Linked DNA regions of Homo sapiens: all the other regions are linked to region 2. Evidence: promoter capture Hi-C in human tissues and cell types (Jung and others, 2019). All regions are on one chromosome and are shown on one strand. Each heading gives the region's core, a stretch centred on a gene start or on the middle of the fragment in contact. The rest is flanking DNA. Distances are from core to core; before and after follow the strand shown. Region 1 overlaps ARID3C (AT-rich interaction domain 3C). Region 2 holds the start of FANCG (FA complementation group G). Region 3 holds the start of CCL27 (C-C motif chemokine ligand 27).

Evidence for each region. Contacts are between HindIII fragments. The study calls those that stand out against the background at their distance.
Region 1: a contact is called between a fragment that was not itself captured here and the fragment with the promoter of FANCG in region 2, in 1 of the 25 tissues and cell types used here (dorsolateral prefrontal cortex).
Region 3: the fragment with the promoter of CCL27 here is called in contact with the fragment with the promoter of FANCG in region 2 in 1 of the 25 tissues and cell types used here (dorsolateral prefrontal cortex).

The regions. Positions count from the first base shown.
Region 1 is chr9:34,621,398-34,625,049 of GRCh38, forward strand. ARID3C (AT-rich interaction domain 3C) reads right to left here. Exons shown (of 8, transcript NM_001017363.4): 4 at 2,467-2,650; 5 at 2,028-2,317; 6 at 950-1,132; 7 at 623-712; 8 at 1-161. The coding sequence ends at 61. Among named protein-coding and RNA genes, the nearest start is that of DCTN3, 2.7 kb to the left of the region's middle. RefSeq lists an enhancer at 2,797-3,345. The HindIII fragment of the contact is 5,541 bases long and covers 1-3,652 here.
Region 2 is chr9:35,078,692-35,082,159 of GRCh38, forward strand. It overlaps FANCG (FA complementation group G), which reads right to left and starts at 1,251. Exons shown (of 14, transcript NM_004629.2): 1 at 750-1,251; 2 at 460-550; 3 at 1-45. The coding sequence starts at 833. RefSeq lists enhancers at 273-880, 2,097-2,703 and a silencer at 956-1,121. The HindIII fragment of the contact is 6,213 bases long and covers 1-3,468 here.
Region 3 is chr9:34,660,908-34,664,414 of GRCh38, forward strand. It overlaps CCL27 (C-C motif chemokine ligand 27), which reads right to left and starts at 1,750. Exons shown (of 3, transcript NM_006664.4): 1 at 1,657-1,750; 2 at 1,377-1,509; 3 at 983-1,172. The coding sequence starts at 1,726. The coding sequence ends at 1,037. It overlaps IL11RA (interleukin 11 receptor subunit alpha), which reads left to right. Exons shown (of 13, transcript NM_001142784.3): 12 at 1-29; 13 at 575-995. The coding sequence ends at 591. LOC730098 reads right to left here. Exons shown (of 3, transcript NM_001320038.2): 3 at 3,256-3,507. The HindIII fragment of the contact is 14,352 bases long and covers 1-3,507 here.

The DNA.
Region 1 (3,652 bases), core at 688-3,187, 460 kb before region 2:
CAGGGGGTCTCCTCCCCCCTCAGCAATGGGGCTGGGACTCTTAGTTTCAAGTAGGACCTCTCAGGGCAAGATGCTGGAAGGGGGCCCTGTGGAGGGTGGGGGTGCAGGGTTGGTTGGACCCTGGGAAGCTGGCACAGGCTGGCGGCGGGCAAAGAGGACACCTGGCAAAGGGGTGAGGAGATGGTAGAGGGCAAAAACAAGCAGGAGGGGGTAGGGTATGGAAACAGAAGAGGGGAACAAAAGTAAGTGTTCTGGTTGCTAGAACACTACACACGTACCCCTGCCACAAACCAATGAGGACAAGCTCCTTGGGTCAGTAAGAGACTCCATTGCTAATGTAGATACCTCAAACAGGTAAACAAGGAATATTTATGCTGATACATAGGCCCAAGACAAGGCAGACATCCCCTGGTACTCATGCCAGAGAGGTCATGCCTTGGATCCCATGCCATGTAGACACCCCCTTTAACCCATGCCAGTCTAGCAATCCCCTGAACTCCATGTTACTCATGCAAGTTTAGATATCCCTGAACTTCATGCTAGTAGAGGAAGTCTAAAATCCCCATGCCAGCCTAAATACCCCTGACCCCATGCCAGTGTAGACAGCCTGCAGTACCCATACCAGTGTAGACCACCCCGTTGATCTCTAGGGCCATGTTGATACTGCTGATGCCACTGCCTGCCAGATTAAGAGGCCCATCCAGCCGCTCTTCTGTCCAGGAGGGGGCAGAGGAATCACATTTTGGAGAATCAGACTTCTGACTTATTAATAGAATTTCCCCCCTCCATCCCCGTAGACAGCCCCCATTCCACTTCAGCCCCACACCTATACTCACACAGTTGTCTACAGAGGAATCTGTCTGCCCCGTCTCTAACACCTATCAGGTGATGGGTCAATCCTCCCTCAGTGTACAGTCCCGAAGCCCCCTCACAACAAGCCCCTCCTCACCCCTCAGGGGAACCTTGCCACGGGGCAGGAAACTGGGGGGCATGCAAGGTCGAGGTGGGTCCATAGGCCCCATCAGCACAGCTCTCTTCTCTGGGGGCTCCTCTGGTGCCAATTTCTCCCGTGTAGGTCCCAGTGCCAGGCCCACAGGCAGTGCCAGACAAGGGTTTGGAATTCCACTCTCCTCTAGAAGAACAGGTTATTCAGCTCCCCTGGCCAAACCAACCCATCTCTGCATTGGTTCTCCCCCAGGCCTGGGACCAAAAGAGGTAACTCAAGCTCATGTACCAATCTCTCATCCTTCATTCGATCTATCTTCCCATCCAGAGCCTCAGCCTGGAAGCGCTGAAGCTTTTCTCTAGAGCCCAAAGGATCAAGGTACATGTCTAGACAATTTGGGGGATTGTTTTTGGCTGTTGGTTATTAAATAATCCAGGTCACAAGAGGCACAAACTATATGCAAATAGGAGCACTGGGTGGACATGTGTGGAATGGAGTTGCTGTGATTAAAGGACCTTTTCCTGGCCGGGCGCGGTGACTCAGCCTGTAATCCCAACACTTTGGGAAGCGGAGGAGGGCGGATCACGTGGTCAGGAGATCGAGACCATCCTGGCTAACACGGTGAAACCCCGTCTCTACTAAAAATACAAAAATTAGCCGGGCATGGTGGCGGGCCCCTGTAGTCCCAGCTACTCGGGAGGCTGAGGCAGGAGAATCGCTTGAACCCGGGAGGCGGAGGTTGCCGTGAGCTGAGATCGCGCCACTGCACTCCAGCCTGGGCGACGGAACGAGACTCCGTCTCACAAAAAAAAAAAAAAAAGAAAAAAAGAAAAAAAAGGACCTTTTCCTGAACTTCAGCCCCTACACTTCAGTAACCCGTACCCCAGAGCTCTCATTTGGCCGCAAACCTCAGGACCCCTAAACCTTAGTGACCCCCAAACCTCAGAAGCCCGTCAGACCTTACTGCTCCCATACCTCAATGCCTCCCCAGACCTCAATCCTCACATTTTAATGGTTGCTATATCTTAGCGCCCACCTAAACCTCAGAGACCCCGAAACCTCTACCATTCTCCCCTCGCACCTTTCTTAATAGGGCTTGGACTCAGCTGAGCGCATGCATGCGCTGGCAGGCCGGAGGTGGAACCCTGGGCTGGGCCAGGGCTGGACTGGGTCGCCGGAGGGGCGGGGCCGGGACCCAAGGCTGGGTCCTGAGCGCCCCGAGGGGGCGGCCCTGCCAAGCCGAAGAGCGGAGTAGCGGTGTAAGCCTGGCGACGGCCCTCGCGCCGATTGCTGTCTATGGCGGCCTGGAGCTCCCCTGGGGAGCTGAGCGCTCGAGTCTCGCACTCGTACGGGTACAGGTACTTCATGTACCTAGGGGCGGACAGCGGGCGGTGAGTGTATGGGAGGCTGCACCCAGCTGGTCAAGTCCCACAGCCGGACGCCCGCCCGGGGACCCTCCCCCCTCCCGCCCCAGGCCGAACCCGTGCCCCCTTCCCTTCCGCTCCCGCCCCTGGCCTCACTGGGTGCGTAGAGTGAAGGCGGCCGAGGTGATGGTGGTGGGTAGGCTGAGGCCGCGCGTGACTTCCCGCCACACTTTGCGGTTGATGACTTCCACCAGGCCGCCCTTGGCGGTCACCAGGCGAAACAGAGCGTACAGGTCGAGCACCTGCTTCGCCATGATGGGCACGCGGTTCACTGGCGTCCCTGGTGGGGAGCGGGCTGCCGTCAGGACACTGAGACGAAGACCCTGTCTGCAGCATCCCCAGGGACTGATACAGGACGGGAGCCCCGGGGAGGGCGGGAAAGAGGGAGACTTGGGCGGAGCCCACAGAACCCCAGGGTCTCTGTTTTAGCAAGAAGGACAGGAGGCTAGAACGGGGGGGGGCAAAGTTCTGTAAAAGGCCAGATGGCTAAATGGTCTCTGTCACAACTACTCAACGCTGTCATTGTAGCCTAAAGGCGGCCATAGAGAATACCTGAAGGAATGGATGCGGCTGTGTTCCAATAATATAGACTCTGAAATTCGAATTTCACCAGTCTGGAGATGTTATTCATCTTTAAATTTTGTCCCCCAACTATTTAAACAAGTAAAAACCATTCTTATCTTGCAGGCAGCTGGGTTTGGCCTGCAAACTTTAGTTTGCTGTCCCCTGGGGTAGACCGCAGGAAGGACTTTCGGACAGTGCTGAAGAGCCGGCCTCCCCTAAGCAGCAGCCCCCGGGTGGCTGCCCAAGGCTGGGGGATGACGGGCGGGAAAAGAATCAACTCCCGCCTCGGCCCGCCGACTCCGCAGCCCGCGCCGCCCCCGCCGGCCAGTCCTGACAAAGGGGCCTGTCTGCGCTGAGCGATGGGCCCCAGTTAATTCCTTACCGATCCCGTCCCCTTCCGCCGCGCCTTTGGACCCGAACAATTAGCTGCGGCCTGATTAATGGGGGAAAATTATCGGCCCCGCGGGACCCCCTCCCCCTGCAGCTGGAGCGGTGGGAGGCAGGGACCGAAGGGAGGCAGGCAATGCTGGGATCGGTTCACACCCGCTACCCCAGTGGAGGGGAGGCCTCGAGGAAGGGCCAGAGAGGGAACACTGGAACCAGAATGGGCCTCCCTGGGAACCAAAAGGACTTAGGTCCCTACTGAGGGTCCCTGGGAAGGTAAGGGACCAGAAAGAGGTGCTGGGGTGAGGGCCGGGAGTGGGAAGTGGGCCAGCAG
Region 2 (3,468 bases), core at 1-2,500:
TGACAGTCAGCTCCAAGGGAAGAACAGGAACAGCTGCAGGGAGCCCTGGAGCAACAATGTTGGTCTTACAGACTGCTCCCCCATGGAAGATCCTCCAAATAAAATCCCAACTCAGAGATCACCCCACTCCAACCAAAACAGCTACAATAAAGAACCCACCCTCCAGCCAATTAGCTAAGGATTTAAAAAAAGAACCCAACCTTTGGACAGAGAGTCTGGAAAGGGCAAAAAAGTTATCCAGATCAGACCATCTTGGAAACCATTTTTCAAATGCCACTCTGTGAGTGTGTAAGGAAGAGAGGGATTTGCCTGTACAAAGATGATTCCACTCCAGTCTCCTCTGTGCCTTAAACAGGACTCCCTGCCCCGAGTAATTATATCGATCCCAAAAACGCAGGAGCGGATGTTTCTCTGGCTATGGAAGAGGGGAACTGACCATCCTGGGGAGGACCCGCCTACCTTGCAGACTATGGAGGAGCCCTCTGAGCCCTTCCAGTGCATCCTGAGCCAACTGCTGTCGCCTCAGAGTCAGACCGGAGTTCTGAGCCACCTGCCACATGAGGGAGGGGTTGTCACTGAGGATCAATCCTTTTTTCTCCCCTTGCAGCAGTGGCAAGGGATGCATTCTCCAGTCATTTCTGGCTCTTTGGTCAAGCTCAGTCCCTCCCCATCGGTTGGGGTAAATCCACTGCAAACCCGCTTTCAGGGATCTTGAGGCTGCAAACCGAGGGTGCCAGCAACCGTGTTACCTTGGCCTGTCGAACGAGCCGGTCATTCTTTTCCCTCCACAGGTCCAGGCAGCTGGAGCCCACAGAGGTGGTCTGGCGGGACATGGTGGCCGAGGCTGGGCCCGGAGACCAGAAGCGGACTTAGGAAGGGTGAAGCTGGCCTGCCCAAGCTCCCAACCCCAGCGGGGAGGGGCCTGGGCACTTCTGCACCCCGCCGAGCTCCCCTGCTTCTCTCGGGGTCCCAATCCACCCGCCCAGGCTTTCCAGGACAGATGGGACGCTCTCTCCCCGCGGCCCGCCGGGCTCTCAACCTCGCCTCTGGTTGGCCGGGTCTGCGAAGCTCTGGGCTGCGGTTGGTCCTCTTGAAGAGTTAGTTCCCGCGGGAAACTCGGGGAGGAAACGAGTCAGCAACCCCAAACAGGCTTAGGCGGGCTAGAAGCCGGGGTCGTGTCTGACTGGGGCAGTCGCACGGCCGGCGGTGCGGCCCGCTCGGCTCTCGCGGAGGCCACAGCCTCGAGAAAGGGTGGGCGGGAGCGAGTTTCGGCCCCACAGTCCGTGGCTCGGCCCTTCCTCGCTGCCACACCCCCAGGTCCTCCTGGGTTCCCGCTTCCACCGAGGGCCGACTGCGAGGTGCATGCTGGGAGTCGTAGTACCGCACCGGGGCGGAACAGCTCCGCCCCGGCGGATGGTGTTTCCAGAAAGCGGTAACTGGAGACGAGGGCGCTCCGTAATCGTCCATCCTTTCTCTGCTCACTGTCGAGCACCAACACGCTCACCAAGGTCGGCTTTCTACCGCGTGTAGTCTGCTGGCAGTGCCGCTCTGTACTTGCACTGCTCAAAAGTACCTGCCCAATCATTTCAAATTAAATGGAGCTAGGAGAATTGAATATCCATATGCAAAAAAAAAAAAAAAAAAAGACAGGAAAGAAAAGAACGCGACCATACATACGTACATAAAATCAACTCAATGGATCACAAACTAAATATAAGAGCCAAAAATATAAAACTTCTAAAAGAAAACGTAAAGCAGCCTAACTAACATGGTGAAACCTTCTCTACAAAAATACAAAAATTAGCAGGGCGTGGTGTCGTGCGCCTGTAATCCCAGCTACCCCGGAGGCTGAGGCGGAAGAATCGCTTGAACCCGGGTGGCGGAGGTTGCAGTGAGCCGACATCGTGCCATTGCACTCCAGCCTGGGTGACAGAGTGAGACTCCGTCTCAAAAAAAAAAAAAAAAGAAAACGTAAGAGAACAGCTTTATGACCTTGGGTTTGGCAACAAGTTGTTAGACACAGCACTAAAAGCTTGTACAATTTAAAAAAAAGTTAACTTTATTAAAATTAAAAACTCTTGTACTACAAAGACATCATTAAGAAGTCATACGCTGGGGCCGGGCGCCGTGGCTCACGCCTGTGATCCCAGCACTTTGGGAGACCGAGGCGGGCGGATCACGAGGTCAGGAGATCGAGACCATCATGGCTAACACGGTGAAACCCCGTCTCTACTAAAAATACAAAAAATTAGCCGGGCGATGTGGCGGGCGCCTGTAGTCCCAGCTACTCGGGAGGCTGAGGCAGGAGAAAGGCGTGAACCCCGCGGGCCAGAGCCTGCAGTGAGCCGAGATCGCCCCACTGCACTCCAGCCTGCGCAACAGCGAGACTCCATCTCAAAAAAAAAAGAAAAGAAAAGAAAAGAAAAGAAGAAAAATCATAGGCTGGATGTGGCTCATGCTGTAATCCCAGCACTTTGGGAGGCTGAGGCTGGAGGATTCCCTGAAGCCAGGAGTTCAAGACCAGCCTAGGCAACAAAGATGGTGTCTTTTGTAGAGACATTATCTCTACAAAAAATTTAAAACATTAACCCTGGCACAATAACACACCTGTAGACCCAGCTACTTGGGAGGCTGAGGTGGGAGGAGCCCTTGAGCCTAGGAGTTCCAGGTTGCAGTGAGCCATGATCACACCACTGCCCTCCAGCCTGAGTAACAGAGTGAGACCCTGCCTCAAAAAAAGAAAGGTCACAGTCACAGAGTGGGAGAAACTACTTGCTAATTATATACCTCATAAGGGACTGGTATCCCTAACACATAAAAACTCCCAAAACTCAAGAAAAAGATTTTTAAAAACAATCTTAGCTGGGTGTGGTGGTTCATGCCTGTTATCCCAGCACTTTGGGAGGCTGAGGTGGGAGGATCATTTGAGCCTCAGAAGTTTAAGACCTGCCTGGGCAACATAGCAAAACCCCACCTCTACAAAAAAAATACAAAAATTAGCTGGGCATGGTGGCACACACCTGTAGTCCCATCTACTCGGGAAACTTAGGTGGGAGGATCACCTGAGCTCAGGGATGTCGAAGCTGCAGTGAGCCATGATTGAGCCACTGCACTCCAGCGTGGGCAACAAAGTGAGACCCTGTCTCAAAACAAAACAAAAAACAATTTTAAGATGGACCAAAAAAAAAAAAAAAGACATTTTACCAAAAAAGATCTACTAATGGCTAAGAAACACATAAAAAGATGCTCGGCATTATTAGCTATTAGAGAAACACAGTTAAAAACATGGCCAGGGCCGGGCCATGTTATGCCTGTAATCCCAGCACTTTGGGAGGCTGAGGTGGATGGATCACTTGAGGTCAGGAGTTCAAGACCAGCATGGCCAACTTGGTGAAACCTCGTCTCTACTAAAAATACAAAAATTAGGCAGGCATGGTGGTGCATGCCTGTAATCCCAGCTACCTGGGA
Region 3 (3,507 bases), core at 500-2,999, 420 kb before region 2:
CTCAGTGATTCCAGTGGACAGGCGTCCAGGTGAGTAGGACATCCAGAAGATTTGGACTTGGAGATGTTTGCCCCTATTTTGAGTGTCCAGATTAAGAGCTGGCTGCCCTAGTCATTTTAAAACATGCTGGGAATCCAAGTTGGGTCTCCTCATTTTAATGATGTCTAGGCTGAGGGCTGGGCCTTTCATTCTTGAGTCCCTGGGCTCAGAAGTGGGTCTCTTTCCCTCCTCTCAGGGTACTGAGGAAGGACCCCAGGTGGACTTCCCTTCAGGGTATTAGTATTAGTACTAATACTCTTCCAGGGTATTAGACTCAGAGCTGGATATTCATCCTTTTTTTTCAAGGTGTCTTGGATCAGTGCTAGGTCCCCTCCTTCATTCTTAATGTGCCTGGGCCCAGAGCTAGGTCCACTCCCGTATCTTCAGTGTGTTGAAGAGGCTCCCTCAGAGCTGGGCTCCTCTACTCATCTTCAGAGTGTTAAGCTTAGAACTGAGTCACCTCCCTCATTCTCAGGGTGTCTGGGCCAAGATCCGGTCTTACTGTCTCTCCTGATTTGCCTCCTGCTTCTTCTAGGAGCTCCAAACCTGTAGAGGACCCAGGAGGGCTTCGGCAGATTCCACCTATAATTCTGTCTTGCTGGTGTGGATAGAAACCAGGCAGGACAGTAGATCCCTATGGTTGGATCTCAGCTGGAAGTTCTGTTTGGAGCCCATTTCTGTGAGACCCTGTATTTCAAATTTGCAGCTGAAAGGTGCTTGTACCTCTGATTTCACCCCAGAGTTGGAGTTCTGCTCAAGGAACGTGTGTAATGTGTACATCTGTGTCCATGTGTGACCATGTGTCTGTGAGGCAGGGAACATGTATTCTCTGCATGCATGTATGTAGGTGCCTGGGGAGTGTGTGTGGGTCCTTGGCTCTTGGCCTTTCCCCTTGCAGGGGTTGTGCAGGTGTGAATAAAGAGAATAAGGAAGTTCTTGGAGATTATACTCAGAAATTATTATCCAATGCTGCTTTATTATTTGGCTATTGGGGGCTTCAGCCCATTTTCCTTAGCATCCCAAAATTCAGCTTGGGCAGAGTCCCATGGAGCTTTCTCTCTTGGTGCTCAAACCACTGTGACAGGCTGGGGTTCTGGGGGTGGATGCAGATGCTGCGTTGAGCCAGGTGAAGCCTGGGTAGAGAAAGGTCCAAAGCTATGACCATAGCTTGGGGATGAGATTAGGGTCATCCCCAATGACCCTAATTAGGGGTTAGGAGCAAGGACCAGATGAAAACCTGAGTTGGCAACAGAATTAGCAGTTAGGGCTGGGGTTGGGATCAGCATTAGGGGTTGGGACTGAGGTCAGAGTCAGGGGTATCAGGGGTGGGAGCTCACACGAAAGCCTGGAGGTGACAGTCCCCGTCAGCCTCCTGCAGTTCCACCTGGATGACCTTCCTCAGTAGCTTGTCTGAGAGTGGCTTTCGGTAGAGCTGAGTACAGCAGGCAGTGCTGGGTGGCAGTAGGAATGCTAGGGGCAACAGGGCCATGTGTTCAGAGGGATCCTGACCAAGAACCTCTCTGCCAGACAGCTGGAGGTTAGGTTGGATTTCCTGGGTCTTTTCAACTTCATCCCATTCACCCAGACCCCCAGCTTTCTATACCCCCAAGTACTCACCTGCTGTAGGGTCTGGGCTCAGGAGCAATGACAGCAGCAGGAGGCTGCAGAAGGTTGGGGGCCCCTTCATGTTGCTCAGCCTAGACTCTTCCTTCTCTCTCTCTCCTCCTCCCCTACCTTTTATCTGGGTGCCTTTTACCTGGGGCACTAGGTGAGTCAGAGGCAGTTGGAGATGTACTGTGTAACCTGTGACACTCCTGGGCCCTAATTCTCGGCCTGTTGCCACAGACTCCTTCCTCATCTAGGATAGCCATTTCCCATGTGCTCCTAAGCTCTGGGCAGTGAAGCTGGGGGAAGGATTAGTGTGTGATGTAGGGACTGATGGAACAGTGAGTAAGGGCAGTCAAGCATCCACAGCAGCATCTAATGATAGACATTCACACTCAAATACGCATAGCCACACATTCAAAGTCACTCCTCAATCACTTGGTCAACCTCACAAAGTCATACTCATGATCAGACAACCGTAGACAAAATTATATAGCCCCGGTTATACTCAAAGTCCCTCTCCCACCCAATTGTGTTTTCACAGTCATCCAATCACAAGCAAATTCACACTAGCACACACAGATTCTGACAGGGGAGTTGTGGGTGGGGTGGGAGCAGAGGGCAGGCAAGCACCAACTTGCCTTCACCTTCTCCTCCCCACTTCCTGGCTTGGCCTGCCTGTCTTATCAGAAGAAATGGATGGGAATGGGTCCCTAGAGCAGGCCCTTCTGGCTGAGGAGGGTTCTTGGCTGAGGCCAGCCCCATTCAGAGAAGCTGGGGGAAGGCCCTTTATGGTAATATTAAGGGTGTTTTGGAGATGCTGAGGTGGGGCAGCTTTCCCCAGGATGATGAGACAGGGAGGAAAGGTGGGGTAGATAAGGAGGGAAGATAAAAGCTCTTTGGTGCTAGGTTACTGTTGTCAAAACAGGTAAAAGGCCCAGTGAATCTTACCTTCCTGTTTTTGTCTAGTCCTGTTCCAGGAATGCCAACCTCTTGCCAGCAGGGGCCTAGGGTCTCCAGATCCAGTCCCTGACTTGTTGAAGACATTGGACTCAAGCACTCAATTACATCTTTGTTTTACTCAAATTCCAGCCTCCTTCCTGGGCCTGGAGGAACATCCCCTCTCCCTACCCGGGTTCAGTCACACCCTCATGTCCAACTGCTATACCCCCTGCATCCCACCCTCCAGCTATAGCCGCTTCTCTCCTAATCCCATACCCAGCTGTCACTCCGTTCTTTACCCCCTCCCTGCAATGCAAAGCTCCTATTCATCTTTATCCAGTCCTTTCCAGGAAGCTGGGAGCTGCCTAGGGTGGGGGTATGCTGCCAAGTTCAGTGCCCCTGGCTCCTTTAAGAATTTCCCACTCCTGGTCCAGGGATCTCAATCTGCAAGTCCTGCTCTATATTTGAAACATAAACCAAGTCATAACACAGTAATCCAGCCCTTATCTTGTTGCAGTCGTCTGCTGTAGGGTCAGCCACTCTCTATGGAGTAGGCTTTCTCTTGGGATAGGGCTTAGGCCTTTCTCTTGTGTCCCAAGGCTTGTTGGGTGTAGCCACTGAGGAAATCCCAAGGAAATCTCCCAGGTTCCTCGGGCTTGTCATAGACCTTCTTCATCACTTGGCTGTGCGCTACATACTTTCTGGTCTTCCCTGGGCTTGTCGGTCCAGAAGTCTTCGGAAGGCAGAAAACAAATGCTTTTGGGTGTGCACCCATCTCTCCCCTTTAAGACCAAGTCTTCTCCCCAGCCACAATCTGCTGTAGCTTTGGCCCCAGCCAGAAACTGGGCCATCTCTTTCTTTAACTTAATCTTGTGGTGCCCTTTCTGGTGCTGGGTCCAGTCCCTAACTGAAGGCAGGCCC